Linked DNA regions of Homo sapiens: all the other regions are linked to region 1. Evidence: promoter capture Hi-C in 16 types of primary human blood cells and fetal thymus (Javierre and others, 2016). All regions are on one chromosome and are shown on one strand. The core of a region is centred on a gene start or on the middle of the fragment in contact, and the rest is flanking DNA. Distances in the headings are between cores, read along the strand shown. Region 1 holds the start of PGBD2 (piggyBac transposable element derived 2). Region 2 has its middle 3.2 kb from the start of OR2T1. Region 3 has its middle 13 kb from the start of OR2T1. Region 4 has its middle 9.3 kb from the start of OR2T10. Region 5 overlaps OR2T11 (olfactory receptor family 2 subfamily T member 11).

What was found. Contacts are between HindIII fragments. The CHiCAGO score rates a contact against its expected background, and 5 or more counts as called.
Region 2: a fragment that was not itself captured here is called in contact with the fragment with the promoter of PGBD2 in region 1 in 1 of 17 cell types (total CD4 T cells); the score reaches 5.5 in total CD4 T cells.
Region 3: a contact is called between a fragment that was not itself captured here and the fragment with the promoter of PGBD2 in region 1, in 6 of 17 cell types (naive CD8 T cells, non-activated CD4 T cells, total CD4 T cells and 3 more). The highest score is 10.6, in naive CD8 T cells.
Region 4: a fragment that was not itself captured here is called in contact with the fragment with the promoter of PGBD2 in region 1 in 4 of 17 cell types (total B cells, activated CD4 T cells, naive B cells and 1 more); the score reaches 8.1 in total B cells.
Region 5: a contact is called between a fragment that was not itself captured here and the fragment with the promoter of PGBD2 in region 1, in 6 of 17 cell types (naive B cells, total B cells, M2 macrophages and 3 more). The highest score is 14.1, in naive B cells.

Annotation. Positions count from the first base shown.
Region 1 is chr1:248,904,113-248,908,792 of GRCh38, forward strand. PGBD2 (piggyBac transposable element derived 2) reads left to right here and starts at 2,123. Exons shown (of 3, transcript NM_170725.3): 1 at 2,123-2,230. RefSeq lists enhancers at 1,753-2,674, 2,199-2,388 and silencers at 2,009-2,068, 2,479-2,568. The HindIII fragment of the contact is 4,441 bases long and covers 88-4,528 here.
Region 2 is chr1:248,397,543-248,402,222 of GRCh38, forward strand. No RefSeq gene overlaps it. Among named protein-coding and RNA genes, the nearest start is that of OR2T1, 3.2 kb to the right of the region's middle. RefSeq lists a silencer at 2,712-2,912. The HindIII fragment of the contact is 7,230 bases long and covers 1-4,680 here.
Region 3 is chr1:248,413,328-248,418,007 of GRCh38, forward strand. No RefSeq gene overlaps it. Among named protein-coding and RNA genes, the nearest start is that of OR2T1, 13 kb to the left of the region's middle. The HindIII fragment of the contact is 4,322 bases long and covers 698-4,680 here.
Region 4 is chr1:248,604,669-248,609,348 of GRCh38, forward strand. No RefSeq gene overlaps it. Among named protein-coding and RNA genes, the nearest start is that of OR2T10, 9.3 kb to the left of the region's middle. The HindIII fragment of the contact is 607 bases long and covers 1,836-2,442 here.
Region 5 is chr1:248,620,946-248,625,625 of GRCh38, forward strand. It overlaps OR2T11 (olfactory receptor family 2 subfamily T member 11), which reads right to left. Exons shown (of 2, transcript NM_001001964.2): 2 at 2,612-4,680. Among named protein-coding and RNA genes, the nearest start is that of OR2T11, 12 kb to the right of the region's middle. The HindIII fragment of the contact is 3,011 bases long and covers 639-3,649 here.

The DNA.
Region 1 (4,680 bases), core at 873-3,372:
ATCTATAAACAAACTAGGCTGCAAGGCTTTTATGAAATTTACTCATAATACACATAATTTAAATATTTTCCCCAATTTTTTCCTTAAAGCTTATTTAGCCTATTTCTCAATTAAAGAACTTCAAAATATGTATTTTCCTCAAAGGATTCTAGCTTAACGGGCTAAATTTTTTTTTTTTTCCCAATTCCTATCATGCAGTTCTTCTGCCATTCTACCCCAAATTTGACATTGTTTTCAAAGATTTGACTTTGTTTTTAAACGTAGCTTTATTCAAAGCAATGCACTGAAAATGTCTAGATGGACTCTTTGCAGCTCCATAAACACTTACACTTGGTCCCGATCTTTTTATTAACTTTAAATTACATATGCAAGTATCCAAATTGCAGTGAGAATTCTCTCTGGATCATAAAGGTATGGAAGAAACAGCCAGCAAGCACCTTATTACTCCTTGTTGAACTCACCCCCTCTTTGACCTCATTTCTTTGACTTTCTTTTGTCTCCAGCCATTCTCAAATGTGCTAGGCTTGCTTCGCCTCAGAGCATTTGCACATGCCATTCTCTCTGCTTCAAATATTTTCCCCCTTGAATTCTGCATGGGGAATTTGCTCTTCATATTCTTTGGCTTTTCCCTCAAATACAACCTTCTCACTTACCAACCTTCCCTGACCAAATTATTTAAAACTGAATTCACAACAGTCTTATTGGTCCCCTTTGCTTCCTTTATTTTCTTCCTAGCACTTTCCACTTTGACATGCCATATATTTTGTTTACTGTCTGGTTCTCCCACTGAAATGACAAGAGGGTTTTTCTCTTGTGCCTTTTCTTTTTCACTGTTCTAACATCACTGCTCAGAGGAGTGATTGTCACAGAGAAGACACTCATTTAACACTTGAATGAATGAATGAGACACAGGATCTGGGGAACAAAGCAAGTTAGAAACACCACCCTACCTTACCTAGAGTAGCACTCCCATTTTCCCATGGCTTATTGCCTGTTTTCTCAATTTGCTCATATGTGGAATGAATGACAAACTAATACGTGCCCTTCACTTCAGAATCTCACAAATGAGCATGATTTTTTTCTTCTGATCCAGGGGTTTTGGAACACACTTTACAGTGACCAAAAAACCTTTGTGAAGTGTCAGTGTGGAGAAGCAAATACAAACTCTTCACTAAGTGGCCCTCTTTTTGAATGTTAACACGGTTTGGTCCCAGGGATTTCTGTGTTCAAAGCCTTTCAGGGCAAGGCAGTTTTCTGCGGAGTACACTGTCCTATATACCTAATGGGCTACTGGGTTTCAGCTGGACAAAGTCCTTATAGAGCCGTGATTCTCAAGAAGTAGGGGGAGATACTTTTATTTGTCATAACTAGAGTGGAGAGAGTGTGGTGTGCTACTGGCATTTAGTTGCTAGGGATGCTCAATATCCTACAATTAAGGTTCTATTTTTACCAAGTAAAAATATAGGTAGGCAAGGTAGCCAGATGAAATACAGGGACTTCCAGTTAAATGTGAATCTTAGATGAACAACACTGTTACCTGAAACTCAAATTTAACTGTATTTTATCCGTGACCCTGCCTCCTATAATGCACAGGACAGCCTCCTTCCCTCTCAACAAAGAATTATCCAGGCCCAAAATGTCAAGAGTGGAGGTTGAGAAACCCTGCCATACAGCAGTGGTTCTCAAGCCCTAGTTTGTACCACAATTACCTTCAGGGTTGGTAAGGCCGATTATTGGGCACACCCTCAGAGTTTCTTACTCAGAAGGCCTGTAGTGGGGTCCCAAGATTTGCATTTCCATCGATTTCCCAGGTGAAGCTGCTGTTAGATTGGGGGCACATTTGAGAACCACTACCCTAGAAAGTCCCCATGCTCTCCTGATTAGGAAGGAGCGAGGAAGGTTTCCAAAGTAGGACAGGGGTGGGAGGGTAAGGGAGAGTGGCGGGAAGAGCTGGCCCGCTGGGGTGGGTTATTTCGGCCGTTCTGGCCTCGCAGGCGTTTTCGGGATCCCTCTAGGCGCCGCGGAGGTCCTGGAGTCTCGATGGTCGCTCGGGCCGGGGCGTGGCCTGGCCCGGGGGCGTGGCATGGAAGGCCGGCCGAGGTGCAGCGAGCCCTCTGGTGCCGGACGTTGCGCGGCCGCGACGCCCGACGCCAACGCAGGCGCAGCGCTCCGATTCGGCGCGGCTCATGGTCCGGTTCGGGCTCGCGAGTCTCCGTCTGGGGTAGGGCAGGTAGGCCTCAGTGTGCTCGCGCTGCAGGCAGGGCTTCGCTTGAGTACAGGAGTGGTTGGCGTTGATGTTGCGTTTTCTCAACGGCGGCATCCGAGGAGTTCGTCCTCACCACTGCGCGCCGACGGTGGGCTGGCGGGACCAGGACAGGAACAATGGGATTCCGAGGGCCGCAAGGGGGCGCTCCTTCTGCGGGTTGGGGTGCGAGGCCGGAGGCCGGGCCGGCTGAGCGGGAGGCGGAGCGGGGTGGGTGGGGACCAGGGCGGGGTCGGGCTAAAGAGGGATGGATTCAGGGCGGGGTGGGAGGGACCAGGGCAGGCTCGGGCGGGGTGGGCGGGACGAAGGAGGCGGGCGGCCTGAGGCTGGCGGCGGGACTGCGAATGCCACGTCACATCCTGGGGCGGGGTGGCTCTGTGCCGGGGCGCGCTGGGGGCGGGTCGTTTTTAACTGCGTCTGCCTGGGAAGCTGCTGAGGTTTCTGAGGGTCTTTGTTTGCCCTTCTTTCTCTTTTGCTAGTGAGGTGAAGAGAAGGGAGGGTTCTTCCGTATCCCACAAAAGCCATTCTGAGCTGTTGGGTGAAGGGGTGGCCTGCCCTTCCACACCTGTGGGATATCTTGTCAGGTGGGAGGAGAGACTGAGAAAAGAAATAAGACACAGAGACAAAGTATAGAGAAACCACAGTGGGCCCAGGGGACCGGCACTCAGCATACCAAGGACTTGCACCAGCACCGGTCTCTGAGTTCCCTCAGTTTTTATTGATTATTGTTTTCATTATCTCAGCAAGAGGAATGCGGTAGGAGAGCAGGGTGATAAGGAGGTCAGCAAAGAAACATGTGAGCAAAAGAATTTATGTCATAAGTTCAAGTGGAGGTACTATGCCTGGATGTGCACGTAGGCCACATTTATGTTTCTCTCTGCCCAAACATTTCAGTGGAATAAAGAATAACAGGGCAGCATTGCTGCCAACATGTCTTGCCTCCTGCCATAGGGCAGTTTTTCTCCTATCTCAGAATTGAACAAATGTACAATCAGGTTTTGTACGGAGACATTCAGTTCCCAGGGGCAGGCAGGACACAGTGGCCTTCATCTATCTCAACTGCAAGAGGCTTTCCTCTTTTACTAATCCACCTCAGCACAGACGGGTGTCGGGCTGGGGGACGGTAAGGTCTTTCTCTTCCCACGAGGCTGTATTTCAGACTATCACATGGGGAGAAACCTTGGACAATACCCGGCTTTCCAGGGCAGAGGTCCCTGTGGCTTTTCATGGTGCATTGCGCCCCTTGTTTATTGAGACTAGAGAATGGTGATGACTTTTACCAAGCATACTGCTTGTAAACATTTTGTTAACAAGACATGTCCTGCACAGCCCTAGACCCCTTAAACCTTGATTCCATACAACACATGTTTTTGTGAGGTCAAGGTTGGAGCAAAGAGGTTGGGGCAAAGTTACAGATTAAGAGCATCTCAGGGCAAAGCAATTGTTCAAGGTACAGGTCAAAATGGAATTTCTTATGTCTTCCCTTTCTACATAGACACAGTAGCAGTCTGACTTCTCTTTCTTTTCCCTACAGTTAGGCACCTGGCTCAGCTTTGGGGCATTTACATCTATAAAATGTCTTTTGAATAATTTTTATCTTGAATTAATTTCAGAGTTTCAGAGTGTTGTGAAACAAGCAAAAATTCCCATGTACGGTTCGTCTGGATTTCCTAGGGGTTAACATCTTATTTTACAAAACAGTCAACAAAACCAGGATATTAACACCTACAGGCCTTATTCGAATTTCTTTACTCTCACCTATTTCCATTTTGTAATTTAGGTTCCAAGACAGCATTTAGTTGTCCTGTCTTTCCTTGGAGAAATTTACATTTTAAACAGCAGCTCTCCCACCTCCCAATCCCCTAGGACCCTTTAGAGTGGCCTGGGGAGCTCCAGGTCTCACACCAAGTTGCTTTTTCTTTGTTGAGTGCCTGGGCCAGTTCAGTTGAGAATGCCCAGTTGGACCTCTGGGCAGCTCGTGACCACCCTCTGCTCTTCCTCCCAGTGCTGCTAGGCTTAGTGAATGGCACCTCTGTGCACCAGCCATAGGGTGCCTGAAATCTAGGAGGCTTCCCCGATCAGCTTTCTCCCCTGCCCTACCCCCTCAACCAATTATCCAGGCTTGATGGTTTTACATTTTAAGTCCTCCTTAAGTGTGTCCATTTCTCTCCATAGGCCCCACCCTTTTGCCGTAGCCTTTTTGTCCATCTCCCTGCATCTATGTTGGGGCCTGCATACTCAGTTGTCCATACTGCACCCAGAATAAGCTTGTTAACATACACCCTTCCTTCTGTTATGCTCTTCCTGTATTTTTTTTTTTTTTAAACTTCCCATAGCTCTTATAAAGACAGGCCTCCTTAACAGGGTCTTCAAGTCTCTGCAGGGCTGGTACAGCCTCTTGTACCCTGTCCCGCAGA
Region 2 (4,680 bases), core at 685-3,184, 510 kb before region 1:
AACACTTCTCAAAATAACACATATAATTGGCCACAAACATGAAAAAATGTTCAACATCACTAATCATCATAGAAATGCAAATCAAATCACAATGAGATACCATCTCATACCAGTCAAAATGGTCATTATTAAAAAGCCAAAAACAACAGATGCTGCTGAGGTTGTGGAGAAAAGGTAATGTTTATACACTGTTGGTGGGAATGTAAATCAATTCAGCCAATGTAGAAAACAGTTTGTAGGTTTTTCAAAGAACTTAAAACAGAGCTACCATTTGACCCAGTAATCCCATTACTGGGTATATACCCAAAGAAAAATAGATCATTATGCCAAAAAGACCCATGTACTTATATATTCAACACCATGCTATTCACAATAGCAAGACATGGAATCAACCTAGTTGCCCATCAATGGTAGATTGGATAAAGAAAATGTGGCAAAAAAAAAAAAAAAAAAGAAAATGTGGCACATATACACCACGAAATACTATGAAGCCATTAAAAAAGTATGAAATCCTGTCCTTTGCAGCAATATGGATAGAGCCAGAAGCCATCATCCCACGTGAATTACCACAGGAACAGAAAGCCAAATACTGGATGTTCCTACTCACAGATGGGAGCTAAACATTGAACACCTGGCCACAAAGATGGCAACCATTACATCCTAGAGGTGGGAGGAAGGGAGGGGGTAGGTGTTGAAAAACTGCTGGGTACCATGCTCACTACTTGAGTGATGGGATCATTTATAATCCAAACCTCAGCATCACACAATACACTCAGGCACATGTACGCCATGAATCTCAAATAAAGTGGAATGAATAAATAAATAAATAAAATGATTTTTTCAAAAGAAGTTAAATAAATGAATAGTAAAAATATAAAAGTTGGCCGAGTGCAGTGGTGCATGCCTGTAATTCCCACACTTTGGGAGGCCAAGGCATATGGATCACCTGAGGTCAGGAGCTCGAGGCCAGCCTGTCCAACATGGTGAAACCCCATCACTACTGAAAATACAAGATTAGCCAGGCGTGGTGGTGTATGCCTGTAGTCCCAGCTACTCGGGAGGCTGAGACAGGAAAATCACTTGAACCCTGGAGGTGGAGGCTGCAGTGAGCCAAGATCATGCCACTGCACTCCAGCCTGGGCAAGACAGAGTGAGACTCTTGTCTCAAAAAAAAAAAAAAAAAAAGTTGAAGTTAAAAAAATTAATTAACCTTTCTAGGAAAAACAACAGAAAACATTAAATCTAGTCCTTTTACATCAGAATTTCCAGATCTGTGTGTTTGTGTTTATTTATTTATAGATAGATGAAATGATTGATATATAGATGTGAATTGATAATATAAAAAATGATAATATTTTTGAGGTGCAACTTAACAAAATCAAAACTTTAAAAATATTCACACAAATGAATTAAATAATATTGACTGAGGAAAAGTCGATGAAGAAAACTTCCAAAATCTATACTCAAATTAGACATAAGGATTTAATCAGCACATTATTTTTTAGTCCCCTGAATTAAAACTGTATGTATGTTATAAAAATGGAGCATTAATTAAATAATATTGAGCATATCCATAAAGTATAGTACTTTGTGGATAGTGCATGCTACGTTTGGGAGAATATTTCACATCGGGGCACTTTTTATGTTGTATTTTGTGAACAATGCAAATTGTGGAATTACATGTTAACCCACAGACACTCATCACACACACATATATGTTGTTGTGTAAATGCCATATCTATTTATAGTGTTTAAGTTTCTGCATGTGTCTCTCTGTTGGTTCTCTACCTCTTGTTTAGTTACATAAAGCTCTTGTAGTTTACTGGTACATACACACACATACCCACGAACATACACACAAACAAACACATACAGTATAAATGCAATTTTGTAAGGATAATCATCTCTATGATGTGTTTTCGATAACCCTATCTGGTATTATGTTTTTCCCGATGGGTATGCGTTACCTTTATGCTCAAATAAAATAATAATTATTAAACTACCAACAAACATAACAGATGTTATGTTATTAAAATATAATAGAAATAAAGCTACTTTTTATCTTTTTAATGGCTTTCCACATTTGTTCCCACATTTCTCTGTGAGGAAGAGCTGCTGGCAGAACTTTCTGATGAAACACTCAGGAAATCAGTTTTACACTTTGAAGCACAGGAGTTGAAACATGTTCTCAAAGCCCATGTCACTTAAATGTTCACTGTTTTCCACCCCATCAATACACTTCTCATTAGCTGTAATAAGTCCGTCTCATTAAAGTCTCCTGAGATCCAAAAGGAAGAAACTTGCTCTTTCCCAGAGCACTTCATTCCATGTCCCTCAAAGAAAACTATTTAAACTCATGCCTCTTTTCAATCTGGGCGCTCCCTTGTCGCTCCAGGGATCTCAAAAGCAGAACACCCAGAATAATTCGGCACTCTTTACTGGTCTGCTGCTTTCTTCCTGCATTTTTAGTTTTTCAGACCTGTTTAGTTGCTAAATATTTCCCTGTAAAGATAAGAAATAGACATTATTACATGTTTCTAGAAGGCTGGAGAATTTATGCAATTTGTCCTGGCAATGCAAATTGTTTCAAGGATTTCTAAGGTGGCATTTATTTGTTTGGCTTAATAATACTTCCTTCTGCAGAGTTATATTACAAAAATAGCTCCTAATAAACTTGTTGCATGTCTCTCTTTGTCCTAACTCCATCATCAGTTGCTAAGGATACCTTCAGTCATGCCAAGTTCATAAATCCAAATTAGAAATCTATGCATACTGGATCTTCAGGGTAACATGCTGACAGCACTTTGGCATCCAGATGGCCTAGATGTTGAAGGATTTCCTGTTGTGGGTACCAATGACTATGAATTGCTTTGTGTGTTTTCTTCTTGGTATAAGTTAGATGAGAATTTAAGTCTACTAAATCTAATCATTTTTCCTTCTAGCAAAATATCACCTTCAACCTTCTAAAAAGTCTTAGTTCTTCATCGCTTGTTTAGTTACATAAAGTTGTTGTAGTTTGCCAGTAAGTTTTTGATTTACTAAATTATACATAACCTTCTCTATCTACTACTCTGAATGGCTATCCTGACAGATTCAGCTCTCTGTAAGTGACAGATAATCATCTTTTGTTGGAATACAGTTTGGAATAAAATTAGATATTTGGATAATTTTTATGAAAATTATGTATATTGTATTCCTTGATGTCTACTTAGTGATGTGTGTCACATGCTGTTTTGAGTGGGTGGCATTCAGATTGCATGGATGAGAGGAGATATGAGAAATGTGAGAACATATAGAACACATGAATACATTACTTTATGAAGCTCTTTGAAAATTAAATAATTGGATTTAATAGTTAAGGTTTTGTCTAAATGATGCAACATCCCTCAGTAAAATTAGGCAATTAAAATGGATCATCTAGGAGCTTCTGCTGTACTTAGACTCACTTTGTTTGTTCCACTCTTCCTATTCCCTTAATGAAAATCCAGGTCTTTTGGAATTATGCAGGAATTTCACAGGTAAGAAGTCAAATGCTGATGAGCACCTAGACTGACTCCTCCTCATAGTAGCACTTTAAATATTTGGTGCATATGCAAATGACCGGGTTGCCAGAACATTTCATTGTGGTCTGACTGAATTTACGTTCTTTATATGACATAAACAAGATTTACGTAAACTGGATCTAAGAAAGTTGAGGCAGAGTTGTCTGCAACTCCTGGGCTGGAAATCTCAGGCACAAGTATAATGAGGAATGACTGTCCCATTCCCTCCATGCCAAATGCAAGTGCATTGAGAAAAAGAGTGCCTGTCTGATTATCTGTGGGAATTACATGGAGTGAGTGTTGTAAATCTCAGGTAGAAGGATGCCATTGAGTGTAACAGTGCAAAGAATCTTTTCTTAAATGTTTGCTGCTTTTCTTAAAAAAATAATTTAAGCAAACTTTAGTCTTATGAATTAGATAGGATAAGGACAATACTGTTCGAAAGGCACAAAAGATCTAAAGGAAAAACCTGTACTTACTCCTAGTTTCTAAAGTACAGACTATGAACCAGGCTTCCTGAATCTCTGAACAGTGCATTGTCTTTATCTCCTTCCCCTCGTTTTACAGATAAGAACACTGATGATTGGAGAGTTGAAGATGCTTGCATTAAAGACACAGAGCTGACGTAAGGCAGACTCCTACAGGCATTCTAATTTCCAACATAGACTCGTTGCCTGACTGTCAAACGTGCAAGCATTTTAAAAATCCTTTTTTCCACAATGATTTCAAAGAATGTGCAGACACCTGGATTTCTCAGATCCACTTTGCCAGTGATTCACAGGCATTTTTTTAGTGTCCATCACACCAAGCATAAAATAAACTCTCATCAGAAATAACAGGTCTCTCTAGTAGAGGGGTTTATTCTAGTGTGTAGTCTCTTTATGGGTCTTGTAGGAGGTGTGTGTGGGTTGAAGAATGTGGTTCTAAGTTACTCTAAAATTGTCAGAGTACATTAGTGCTTTATTATCTAATAATTGTATGATTATTATTTCAATATGAGTTCATTCTTAATGATTCCAACTTTTTGAAATACTAAACAGAATTTAGGAACACGGAGAAAAACTAGGAACATATATTTTTGTATTTAGTCTCAAAATTGCACAGCACTGTATTGACCTGTCTTGAGAACTTCTCATGT
Region 3 (4,680 bases), core at 1,609-4,108, 490 kb before region 1:
ATCAATCAAGTCTAAATTTTTTGTATATTGAATACCTTTTTGTGTGTACATTATGCTCTGATACAAATTTAAAATATAACTCATAATAATGTGGTAAATACAATAGTATAATGGGATAGTGGAGGTAGGTGGAGGGTTACCCTAGATATGGTGTTCAAGAAGGTTTCTGAGGCTGTATTTGAGAAAAAAAAAGAGACAGGAATAGAAAGATCCAGGTGTAGAGCCTTCCAGGTAGGAAGAATAACACGGGCCAATGTTCTGAAATGGCAATGATGTGTTCAGAAGGCTTGACAGTGATGCAGATCCCGAATGAGTAATGGGTGGAGAAGGCAAGTCTGAAAACATGGGTAGTGACCAGATCAGAAAAGGCCTTTCATGCTGTGGTACAGAAGTTGGAACTTGACTTAATTTGCAAAGAAAAACCATTGAGAGGTTTCAAACAAAGAAAAGACAGATTATAAATAACATTCTGAGAATGCTACTCTAGCTGCTTTATAAAGAATGAACTAAAAACACCTGTTAGGAGGCTTTTCCTGCGTTCTAAAGAGAGACATTTTCAGCACGGGTTAGAGTTTTAGGAGTAGAGGTGACAGGAAGTAGTATCACTGGGATGCACTTGAAGGTGTGAATAACAGGCGATGATTAATAAAGTATGAGGTCTGAAGGAAATAGAATCCAGAAGAGTGCCCAGGTTTTAAGCTTGAGCAACAAAATTGATAGTGGATCTATTTGTTGAAATGGAGTGAAGACATTTCTATACTTTTAATTTATTTTTTATGTTTTTGAGGAATATTGTGCTTTGATTGTATCAAGTTAAGCAAGAGATGATAACAGCATGATGAGTTTTGCCTTTCAGAAAGCAGTAGCATTTATCGAGCCCGAGAAGTTGAGTCTGTAGTGAGCCATGATCGTGCCCTGCACTCCAGCCTGGATGACAGAGTGGGACCTTGTCTCAGAAAAGAAAAAAAAAAGCAAAAAGCAGTAGCATTTAGAAAGCAGTTATTACTATATTTGACTCTCAATGACGGAAGATATCATAAGTCAACACCTAGAAAAGGCTAGCGATAGATACTTTTATTGATTTAAAGTACTTTTTAATGGCTAGTGATGGATACATCTTATGAACTTTCCTTTTGGGTTATGCATCTTGGCATTTCAAAAATAATCTTTGGGTAATGTTTTCAAAACTTTAACATTTTCAAAAAGCTCTGTTTGAAATACCATTTGACCCAGCAATCCCATTACTGGGTATATACCCAAAGGATTATAAATCATGCTGCTATAAAGACACATGCACACATATGTTTATTGGGGCACTATTCACAATAGCAAAGACTTGGAACCAACCCAAATGTCCAACAATGATAGACTGGATTAAGAAAATGTGGCACATATACACCATGGAATACTATGCAGCCATAAAAAATGATGAGTTCATGTCCTTTGTAGGGACATGGATGAAGCTGGAAACCATCATTCTCAGCAAACTATTTCAAGGACAAAAAGCCAAACGCCGCATGTTCTCACTCATAGGTGGGAATTGAACAATGAGAACACATGGACACAGGAAGGGGAACATCACACACCAGGGCCTGTTGTGGGGTCGGGGGGAGAGGGATAGCATTTGGAGATATACCTAATGTTAAATGAAGAGTTACTGGGTGCAGCACACCAACATGGCACATGTATACATATGTAACTAACCTGCACATTGTGCACATGTACCCTAAAACTTAAAGTATAATAATAAAAATAAAGAAAACACAGAAAAAAACCCCAAAAAGCTCTGTTTTACCTCAATCCAATGATTTTATGCATCAATATTCTTTCTTATGAGCACGGTCATCTGCAGGGGAATGTGGGGTGTGTGTATAAGATTAAGAGCTTTATTATGAGTATGTTAAGTTTGAAATGTCTATTGAATATCTAAATAAAAATGTCAAGCAGCTAGATATTTTAGTCTAGATATCATTTTAGGTGGTAGATGTGAAGACAGGTTTCAGAATTATTGATACGCAGATTATGTGTTAACAGAATTAAAGAATAGGACAAGAGAATTTCAATATTTAAATACTAGACCACAAAAAAAGTGACAAGAAAGGGATAAAAAAGATGTGGAGCACCCAGAGGAGTGTGGTGTGGTAGAAACTTAGAAAAGACAGTCTTTTTAATAGAAGGGAGGGGTCTACATGTGAGTTTTTGGGTAAAGTTTAAGTAATGTGAAACAGAAAGTTGATTGCCTGAGAGTGCAAGATAACAGTCGTTCCTATCCTTCACAGAGGGGCTTCGATGGAGTGATTGGACAGAATATCTTGTGAAGTAGACTAAGGAGAAAGGAGGCTCAAAAATTGAAGAAAATCACAAAAGTTTGCTCTGAATAATGGAACAAATATAAAGTTATACATGGATAGTGACATGGGGTTAAGGGAATATTTTTTATATATGTATATGTACATATACATATATGTGTATGTATTTTTATATTTATTATGTATATTACATATAATATATATGTATGTTATATATATTTTTATATATGTATATATATGTGTGTGTGTGTGTGTGTATATATATATGCTGTTGACAAAAGCCAAACTCTCTAAAATATTTGAAGAGGTTTATTTTGAGCCAGATATGAGTGATCATGGCCTGTAACACAGCCTCAAGAAATCCCAAGAATAATCTTACCAAAATTGGTCAGGTGACAGCTTGGTTTTATACATTTTAAGATGACAGAAATTACAGGCAATATACATTTTAAGGAGAAGACAGAAATTAGAGGCAAAGACATAAATCAATGCATGTAAGATGTATGTTGGTTTGGCACGGAAAGGCGGGACTTCTTGAAGTGACAACTTATAGGTCATAGGTGGATTCAAAGATTTTATTATCAGCAGTTCGTTGAAAGAGTCAATCCTTGTCTAAAGACTTAAGAAATCAGTAGAAAGAAATGCTTCAGTTAGGGTAAGATGGTTTTCAAAACCACAGTTCTTGTTATATAGACGAAGCCTCTAAGTAGCAGGCTGCAGAGGGAATAGATTGTAAAATGTGTAAGACTCTTAGTTAAGTATCTTCTGGGTCCATAAAAGACCCAGAAACGGAAGGAGATTCTCTAGAGAATGCAAATTTCCCCCACAGGAAATGGCTTTGCAGGACCATTCTAAAATGTGTCAAAAATATATTTTGGGGTAAAAGATCTTGATTTTCTTCAGGACCTGCTATCTGTCATATGATACTATGCCAGAGTGAGGTTAGAATTTGGTATCTTGTTGCTGCAGAGAGTCTGTTTTGTCAGCCTCAGGACCTCTATTTTAACATTACTGTTGCTCAGTTGTGCCTAAACTCCAAAGAGAGGGGGTAGAAAGAGTCATGTCTGAACTCTCTTCTAGTTGTTTGGTTTCTTTGCGATCTCCTTAACCAGGAGAGTGTCAGTTGGGGTGGGGGCTTAGACTTTTATTTTTGGTTTACATTATTCTCCCTCAGGTCAAGATTTTCCAGAGGCAACATTGATGGCCAAAGTTTTATTTGTCCTCTATTGTTGCCAGAGTGTGTGGCTATGGCTATCTGCCCCAGGTGCATCATGTTCTTTGGTGGGATCCGTATGGCCAAGGGGCTTAGAGCCAAAAGACTTATAGCAAATTTAAATGTTGTAGGGCTGGATGAGAATGGAGATGGGCAGGCATTTATCAGCCGTTAAGATCTTTAAGCAATATAAGAGCCCAAAACCAAAAGATAAGGTTACAAAATTGACTTATCAATACATTCTGTGCATTGAGCAATACAATAATCTTGATTTTTGTTACAGACTTCTAGCAATTAGCTGTAAATAACAAAAGCATTTTGTTGAAACCATTTAAGCTAAAGAACACAGAGGCTTGTTTTGTGCTGCAGTGCTTTTTCGTGGTCTTTTTCATCATTTGTCCTGAGGTGGCTGATTTAAAAAGTTACATATATCTGCATAAATCTCACAGCTAGGAGCAGTATATCCAGGAGGCTTTGTGACGAGGTTTCTTGTTATGCTCTTGGTAATTTTCTTTTAATCCTGGGACAAGCATAAAATTCTTTATAGTTGGGATGGATGGAAAGCAGCCATGTAATAGCCCAGGAGGAAAAGGCCCCTACCTTGCCAGCTGTTTAGGCATCTGGATGTCTGTCCTTGATTTGGAGGCTCTGAAATAATTCTGTCTCTGAAATTAATCCCTTACAAGCTCACCTGCCCACCTCTTCCACAGTAGCCCCTGGGTCTAGAGGGAAGGTGCCTATGTAGCCTTAGTAGCAAGGTGTTAGCAATGAAGACAGATCAGGCCCAGTGAGAGTCTAAGCAGGTTTTACATTTGGCAGATATTAGGTAGAGAGACAAAGGTAATCTATCTGTGTTTTACCAATTTTGTAAGCTACATATAGCTCAAAAGGAAAAGGCATTTCTTTTTTTACTCTGGAAAACAAAATGTAAGGAATCAGCAACATTTTAAAGAAAAAGAGCTTAATTCCTGCCTTGCTCTGACAGAAGACGGAAACTCACAGGTAGCTAGCATTTATTATCTAACATTAAGGCATAGAACAAATTATATTAATTTAGATAGAGAAAAAATTATTAAATGAGTATTCATGCCTTTGTATACAAGCCTGGTTTAGTGTCATACAAAAGCAGTTTTTTTCACTCTCATCTTCTCCCAGCTC
Region 4 (4,680 bases), core at 889-3,388, 300 kb before region 1:
ACTTAAAGTAAAATTTAAAAAAGCTCTAGAGTCTTTGTGTGGTGTTAAACCATATCTCTAAACAAAATGATACTAAACAAAATTTAAAAATACTAATATGTGTGATTTGTTGTTTGCAACTTTCTCTCGTGTTCATACTCCCAACGTGGGTAAATTCAGGTTGCTAATATGATGTCACTGACCACACAGTTGGGAAAGGATATGAATAATCATATCTCACCAGCTAGTGCAAGCTGGCCCCAGCACAACACTGCAGAAATGTTAGAACAGAGACTACTTCCAGGAGGAGAAAATAAGGAGGGTTAACAGGACAAAATAATAGGAATAAATTTCTGAGGTGAGAAATGACACCTGTCTCAAATCCAAAAGGTATGGTATAGATACTAAACTGGGTAAATGAACCCAACATTTTTATTTTATTATTATTACTTTATATTTTTGAGACAGTCTTGCTCTGTCACTTAGGCTGGAGTGCAGTCGCACGATCTCACTGCAACCTCTGCCTCCTGGGTTTAAGCGATTATCCTTCCTCAGCCTCTGAAGTAGCTGGCATTACAGGCTGTGCCACCACGTCCAGCTAATTTTTGTATTTTAGTAGAAACTTGGTTTCACCATGTTGGCCAGGCTGTTCTTGAATTCCTGACCTCAAGCGATCCACCCCGCCTTGGCCTCCCAAAATGCTGGGATTACAGGTGTGAGCCACTGTGCCTGACCAACAGTAGCTGTTTTTTTCTGCTTCTCTCTTTCCTCCCACCCTCCATCCTCTAGTGGGATCCAGTGTCTGTTGTTCCCCTTTGTGTCCTCATCATTTAGCTCCCACTTACAAGTGAGAACATGCAATATTTGGTTTTCTGTTCCTGTGTTAGTTTGCTAAGAATGATAGCCTCCAACTTCGTCCATGTTTCTGCAAACAACATGATCTCATTCTTTTCATGACTGCATAGTATCGCATGATATATATGTATCACATTTTCTTTATCCAGTCTACCATTGATGGGCGTTTAGGTCGACTCTATGTCTTTGCTATTATGAACAGTGCTGTTATGAACACATGCAAGTATGTGTCCTTATGATAGAACAATTTATGTTCTTTTGGGTATATACCAAGTAATGAGACTGCTGAGTCGAATGCTAGTTCTGTCTTTATATCTTTGAGGAATTGCCATAGTGTTATTCACAATGATTGAACTAATTTACACTCCCACCACCAGTGCATATGTTCCCTTTTCTCTGCAATCTCATCAACATGTTATTTTTTGACTTTTTGATAATAGTCACGCTGACAGGTGTAAGATGGCTTCCCAATGTGGGTTTGATTTTCATTTCTCTAATGATCACAGATGTTGAGATTTTTCTCATATGCTTCTTGGCCACAAGAATATCTTCTTTTGAAAAGTGTCTGTACATGTCCTTTGCCTACTTTTTAATTTTTTTCTTGTAAATTTAAGTTTCCTATAGATACTGGACATTAGACCTTTGTCAGATGCATAGTTTGTAAATATTTTCTCCCATTCTGTAAGTTGTCTGTTTATTCTGTTGATAGTTTCTTTTGCTGTGCAGAAGCTCCTTAGTTAGATTCCATTTGTCAGTTTTTGCTTTTGGCATCTTCATCATGAAATCTTTGCCCATTCTTATATGCTGAAAGGTATTGCCTGGGTTGTCTTCTGGGGTTTCTAGAGGTTTGGATTTTGCATTTAAGTCTTTAATTCATCTTGAGTTGATTTTTGTAAATGGTGTGAGGAAGTGGTCCAGTTCTAATCTTTTGCATATGAGTAGCCAGTTTTCCCAGTACCATTTATTAAATAGGGAGTCCTCTCCCCATTGCTTATGTTTTAAGCTTTGTCAAAGATCAGATGGTTGTTGGTTTGTGGCCTTGCTTCCGAGTTCTCTATTCTGTTGCTCTATGTGTCTGTTTTTTGGACAAGTGCCATGCTGTTTGGTTACTGTATAATCTTGATGTGGTCCCAAAATGGGAGGAAGTGCAATATGCTCCACCTGGAGAGGGAGATGGAGAATGCCAAAGATTTCTGGAGAGGTGGACTAAGGCAGACCCTAGAGGGCTTGGTAGGGACGATAATCATTTCTACCACACAGTGTTGTTAAAAGATTCAGATGCAAAATCTCCCATAAATCATAGCAGGAACTACACAATCCATAAAAAGCAACCTAGTAAGATTTCAGTGAGTAGGCTACTAATTAATCAGTATGTTTCCCCTAAGCCAGCAAAAACCAATTCTAAAACAGAGTGAGAAGAAACCTACTCCAGAAAGCGAGCATAGAAATACAGGTCTAGAATTAAAGGTTCACAACATGTGCAATATCTGTGGTGAAGCATCATCACACTCTTCAAATTGGACAAAGACAGCTGGATGGAAGTCTCTACATGGTACACAGGTAGATTTCACTTAAAATAGTACAAAAATCCCAATATGACCTTTATCAAGCTTTGTTGATTTATTATTCTTGTTATGCTGGTTCTATTGTTCATACCTCCCAATTCTGTGAGCTGCTGTACGAAAAATAAAGCGTCTCCGTGCTAAAAGAAAAAAGCCAAAGAACAAGGCGGCCTCCACACTTCTACCATCTAAATCTCCTCACGTGCACCTCATCAATAGAACCTAAATTACTGGTGAATCTCAGATACCATGGAGTTTGTATACATAGATTTTAGTTTTCCAGCTTTACCAGTCAAAAGACATATGAAGAAGTTGGGATGAAAACAAGCAAGCCAACTACAGTATCCTCGGCTTCTGCAACACACATTTAGGTTTTGCCTTTACTTCAATACCCTTTCTCTTTCAATAGGTCTGTCCGTTCAATTTATGCAAATTATGCAATTTCAATTTATGGAAATTAGAAATGGTTGGTCTCTTTTCTGACACCTTATTTTTGCTATGCTTCCTTTTTTAACTTTTTATTTCTCCCCATGTATAGTTAATTATGTGTTTGTGTTTGAGAGCTCGGTTTTTAAAATTAAAATTTTTTACTTTTTCATTTTATTCATTTTTTCCAACCTCAGAAGAGCACATTGTTCTTTTAGATCTTTGGATTACTCTTATATTTCAAATAATATGCTCAAATGTCTAGTTTTTCCACAATCTAATTACTATTTAAGTACATTTACACATTTGCCACTCTCTCCACCATGCACTCAATTTTAGTTTTTCAGTTACATTATTCCTCTTAAAACCTTTTAGCATATCCCTATACTTTAATCATATAATTATATCCGTATTAACTGATTCATCAAGTATAAATTGTAAAGAGGTTGGTCTGCCAAGGAAGGTATGGATTTTGTGAAGATATAAAAGAAAATAAAAGACATGTAAATACTGGTAGAAGGAGACATCTTTATTAGTCATTTCCACATCCATCTCCCCAGTTTCTAGATTTTTTTATATTGTTATCACAGTCTATATTGTCTCAGTTTGTTACATTTCTATTTTAGTCATACCTTCATTTACTTATTCATATAGAGTCATTTTCTCATGTGTTTTTATTAAATGCTTTTACATATTATCAGGAACCTTTCCATTATAGTTTCTCCAGGCATCCTTTGGTGGGTTAAGGTTTGTCCTCAACCTGTTTTATTGTGATGTATATATGTGGCTATTCTACTTTTCCTTTCTCTTAAATCTTAAAGAATGGCTTTGTTTTTTAAAAGATATTCCACTAAAATATTGTTAAGTATTGCTCTATTTTTTATCATTTAATATAAATAAAATTCAAAGACCGGCCTAATACCACTATATTGTGATATTTTGCCTAGATTTCCTAGTAATTCTAACTTAGACACACACAGTACCATATTTTTGTGGGACATATCTGGATATAGAAAATACTATATCACATTTTGAAAAAGTATCTGCATGTACATTTTCATTCTAATCATTTACATGTATTTTTCAACCACAATATTTATGTTTGACCCTTTTTGTTGGTTTCCAAATCCACTGACACTTTTTAACCTCTCTCTTTATTTTCCTCAGGATTTTTAAGCCTCTTTTTCTGGTCCTTCATTATTTTTAAGCTGTTTCTCTTCATTTGTTAACATATTTTTATTTTACTTTTATCTTCTATTTATTCTCTAACATCTGTCACCTCAGTATTGATTTCTGTTTTTGCTTTATACCGATTCCTTTGACCCTCATGTAGCATTTGAATTCTATTACAAAGAAATATCAGATTTCATTTCAACTTTATTTCAAGGGAACCAACTTTTCATAATTTTGGTAGATATTATGTTGTATGTTTTCTATTTTGCTTTAGCTTTCTTTTTACTTTTGATATATGATGTTGCCTAAAACGAAATATTTAAGTAAATGTATTTCCATTCCTAGCTACCTATGTGTTTTAGGCAGATATGAGTTTTGAAATGTATTTGAAACCTTTTGGATCCTTTATATATGCTACATAGCTTTCATAGGACACCAAGCGACGCAATGTTTTACAGCCTTGTCTTGTATATTCTGTCCTATCCATTGTTACATGTCTGAGACCAAATTTGGCTGTTTTTATCATTTCTCTTAAACATCAGAACCTCATCTCCATCATTTTTCTGTAAACCTTGCTTTGAATTCTTCAGTCTCTCCTATCTTTAGTTATCTAATAACACATGCAATTTAATTCAGACTGATAAAGGATATTGTCTTAAATCTTTCTGCCTCTCTTTTGTCCTTA
Region 5 (4,680 bases), core at 894-3,393, 280 kb before region 1:
GTTTCTCAGGATCTTCTGAGGGTGGTTCCATGGGCCATTGGTCACTCATTTGGCTCAGAATAAATCTTAAAATACAGGGTTTGACTTTTCATCGACAGGGTATACAATTTATATAATTTTCAATGAATAGTAAAAATTAAACTGTAGTATTTAGGAATATTTATCCAGTCATGCAAGAAGAAATCCAGGGAATAATTACTATGAAATTCATTTGGCAAAATAACTGACCAATATTCTTCGCTGTCAAGGCCCAACTAAAGAAATGTTAGAAACTTAACTGAAATGAGTGAGAATTGCTCAGTCAAGTTTCATTAAGCCAATATTAGAGTATGTCTAGAAAAATAAGCCACAGACACACCCATGGCCATTTTTCCAAAGAGGTTTTTAGAACACTCAGTACGTATATATTTTCTTAAGGTGGGGGAAGGCATATAGGAAGACGGGCGGGTTGGTGGTAAGGTCAATGGTTACGTTTCTGTGAGACTTCAGTTAGTGCCCAGTAAATGTACATTTTACACAGGATAAGGTGAATGTCTGAAGAGATAGAAGGAGCCAAGGAAGAGTCAATTATGCAGAAGTCCCTGGGTAGGTGGAGGAATGATTTGTCTCATCCGGTCTTTCTTCTGCTCCTGGAAAGAAGCTTGTCATCAACATTATCAGTGTGCAATTGAGCAGACAGAAGAGTTCAAGACCAGCCTGGCCAATATGGTGAAACCCTGTCTCTACTAAAAATACAAAAAATTAGCCAGGCATGGTGGTGGGTGCCTGTAATCCCAGCTACTTGAGAGGCTGTGGCAGGAGAATCACTTGAACCCAGGAGGGGAGGTTACACTGAGCTGAGATCATGCCATTGCACTCCAGCGTGGGCAGCAAGAGCAAAACTGTTTCAAAATAATGTCAGCATTAAGAGAAATTGAGTGACGGCCACATTGGAAGCTCATTGTGCTAATTTTGCACATTTTTGCATGTCTAATAGTTCAAATGAAAGTTAGAGACATTTAGAATAATGCCTGTTTTTGCCCTGGGGCATGTGCGGTGATCAAACAAGAGCGCCCTGGAGTGCTGGTTATGTTCCGTTTCTTGATGGGGTGCGGGGTTATTTCATGAATGGTTTCACAACTGTTTTCTTGAGATGATTAATAATGAGTTTTGCATGGCATTTCTAGTGTTATATTTCATAGTATAAGAAGAGATTAACGCTGATTTATAATGTGATTTTCTTAGAAGCCCTGCTGTTGCCTGCGTCATTAAGTGGTGATTCAATTCACTCCCTAAAATTACAAAGTGGCTGGAATTAAATATCCCCAAGCAAAGACTTCTTTCCTCTATGTTGTAGCAAATTCAGTAACTTTTCAAGTTTTACCAAATAAAGTGAGGGATATTAACTATAATATTTAAAGCTATTAAATTCTATCTATAATTACAGAAATATATATGGAGAAACAAACTTTTTGGCAAATTATTTGGCAATAAATAATCATAGATTCAAGGTTTTTATACAATTCATTGTATTTTTTCCAATTGATTCTGGAGGGATTACAGAGTAAAAATAACTGCTAAAATGCAGAAAATGTTTAATAACAAAAATGATGTCACCATCAGTCCAAAGGTACCGATATTATTCATTTTTTTTTTTTTATTCTCCTAATGATACATGCAGTTTTAAAGAATAGAGAACACATGGTGTTGTTTTAGGATAATGTCATATTACTAACTGGCCACAAGGTGTCAGGAGGAGGATGTCATGGTGTCCCATAGTAACAATCACTTGGGACTTCATATTCATGTATAGATTTCTTCTTCCTGTACAGATAGATCAGCAAGCCAAGAGAAAGTGGGGAGATATATAACCATCTTAGACGCAATCGCAAATGTCTCAGTGCAGTACCTGAGGTAGAAGCTATTCAACGAATCAAGGAACTCCTGATGAGAGCTTTGCCCAGGGAACCCACAGAAGACGGCTTGGCTAGATCACTCAGGCAGAGCCCCCATGGCCTGAAGGAGCAACAGTTGTAGGCTTAGAAAATATCTGCTCTAAGAAGCCTCTTCCTCATTCTTCAACTATGATAGACTCTGAGCAAGATAGTAAACTATGGCACAGAGAGGTTAGGTAACATGCTCAGGGCACACAGCCCAGAAAGAAATAGGCTAATATTCAGACTCCAGGGGGTTCAAGCTCCAAGCATATGGCCTTATCACCCTTAAATTGCCTTTGAAATTGGCAGATGGGGTGGAAATAATTAAAGAACAGTTAAATATTCATGGGGAAAAAACCTTATAAAAAGCTGTTCAACATCTGAACAATCTGTTGCTGGGCATATATGCTGGTATCACACAGTATTTTAGTGAAATCTGTGTGCCCATCTCCTCTTGGTGCCAACTACAACTAGGACACTCAGAGCAGGGACATTTTCCCACGCTAAATGGGAACCCATCACCAGAGAAGCCACCACCAAAGCCAAGATTACAGAGAGAATGTTTTAGGAGTAGGGTGGAATTTAACTTCTAAACGTAAATAATTAACATTTTGAAATGAAGTGACAGTGTCACCTTATAATGCAAAATCATGCCATATTATACAAGAAACTCCACACCATGAAGAATTCTGCCTATACAACTTTTAATTGCCCAAAGAGACAAATTTATTGAAATAAACAGCTACTGAACATCTATTACATACTGCAAATTATATGCCTTGGAAAAGCATAAATATGACACACTTTATTCACAAAGGAATAAGTTTGTAGTAGTAACAGCAGTTGCTGCTGTTATTTTGTCCTTGTTTTTAACATAATTCTAGTTAACATATTGAGTGCCTACTATTTTCTGGCCACCATCCCGAACACACATCATGAATCGTCTGACAAATGTGCTGTGCTAAATTCATAAATTCAATGCAAAGGAGGGGGAGTCCGAAGGTTGTCCTACAACCCAGATGTCTCTACTAGCTTATTAACTTACCTCTTCTCCAAGATGATTCTCTTCTCCTCTCAAACTTTTGACGGGACCACCCTGATCTTTACTCATAGACGCTCTCATTGATTCTAACTGCACCGAGAAGATACAAACCATCGGAAGGGATCTTAGTTATAACACACGCTCTGCCTGACCTCCTGCTATTGTCACTGAGTTGGCCATGCTCTTACAAAAGTTCAAACTCTCCACTTCTAAACTGGTTTCTGTGCTTTCGGCCACTCTCAAAGGCCATCTTTCTGAAACTTTCCTCCATTTCTCATATATCGATTTTCTTTTTGTACTGAATTATTCCTTTGAACTTCATACTCAATATCACATGACAGCACCATTAACATCAAACACATTGGTATCACGTTTTTCTAGTTATACTCCATTTCCTTTACAAAAAAATCTAAAAATTCATACTCAACTTACCTTATCCACTTCCTCCCCCTTGATTTTACCCTGAATCATCTCTAAGCATATCTCCATTAAAAATGGTCACTAAGGTTACAAGTAACCTTTCATGTTGCTAAATACAGTAACCAAATCTCACTTATTTCAACCATAGACTGCACTTGTTGCAGTTGCTTTTACTTTCTTTAAACACTTTGTCTTAGATTTCTTCTAACCTCATAAAACCCTATCTTTCTAATTTTTCATGTGACGCCAGCTGCCTCAGATCTCAGTCTCAAGCTTTCTCTTAAGAAAACTCTCAAAAAACCTGTTTTTAAATGCTCTTCGTACTCTGATTATTAAATGTATGCTTTATGTTCAGAACTCTAATCTGAAGTACAATTGACTTTACATATAGCTTCAATATCTTTCTGTATTTATGTATTTATCTTGAGACAAGGCCTCTCTGCCAGTCAGGCTGGAGCACAGTGGTGCCATCACGGCTCACTGCAGCCTCAACTTCTCAGCCTCCCGTGATCCTCCCACCTCAGCCTCCCAAGTAGCTGGGACTACAGGCATGTGCCACCACATCCAACTGATATTTGTGTTTTTGGTAGATGGGGTTTTGCTATGTTGGCAGGCTGGTCTCAAACTCCTGAGCTCAAGCAATCCACCCTCCTTGGTCTCCACTAAAGTGCTGGGAGTACAGGTATGAGCTACTGCACCCGGCCTAGCTTAAATACCTAATAGATATTTCCAAATTATCTTAAGTGAATTCTTGACTTCTGCTACCGACAAGTTTTCCAAATATCAATATTCCATTTTTTTATTCACTTGGGCCCAAACCAATAAGTTATCCTTCACTCTACACCTGTTGCTAACACACGCCAAATCCATGAGCCAAATCCTTTGTGTCCACACCCTACACAAGCCATCCTTGTTTCTCATCTCTGAAACCTCAATTGTCTTCCTGTATCCATGTTTGCCCTTTGTTCTATTTTCCTACACTGTAGGCATAGTGATGCTTTAAAAACGTGTCTGTTATCATGTAACACCCGCATGGAAAACTCCAGGGACTTCCCACCCCACTCAGTCAGTCTCAAAGTGCCTTAAGTGTTGCTGTTGAATCACAGAACTTGGAAAAGGGAAGTTTCTGGCCATGGATGTTAACGAACCTGGTATCCTGTTAATACATCCTCAAGGAAAGTGGCAGTCATGTTCTTTGATGCTAAGTGTTAGAGTCTATTCCCTGTGAGTAGCTGTGTCATGCTGAACCTCCACCCATTCATACTCAGTTCTGTTCAATTCACCACCATTTATTGTGGCCTA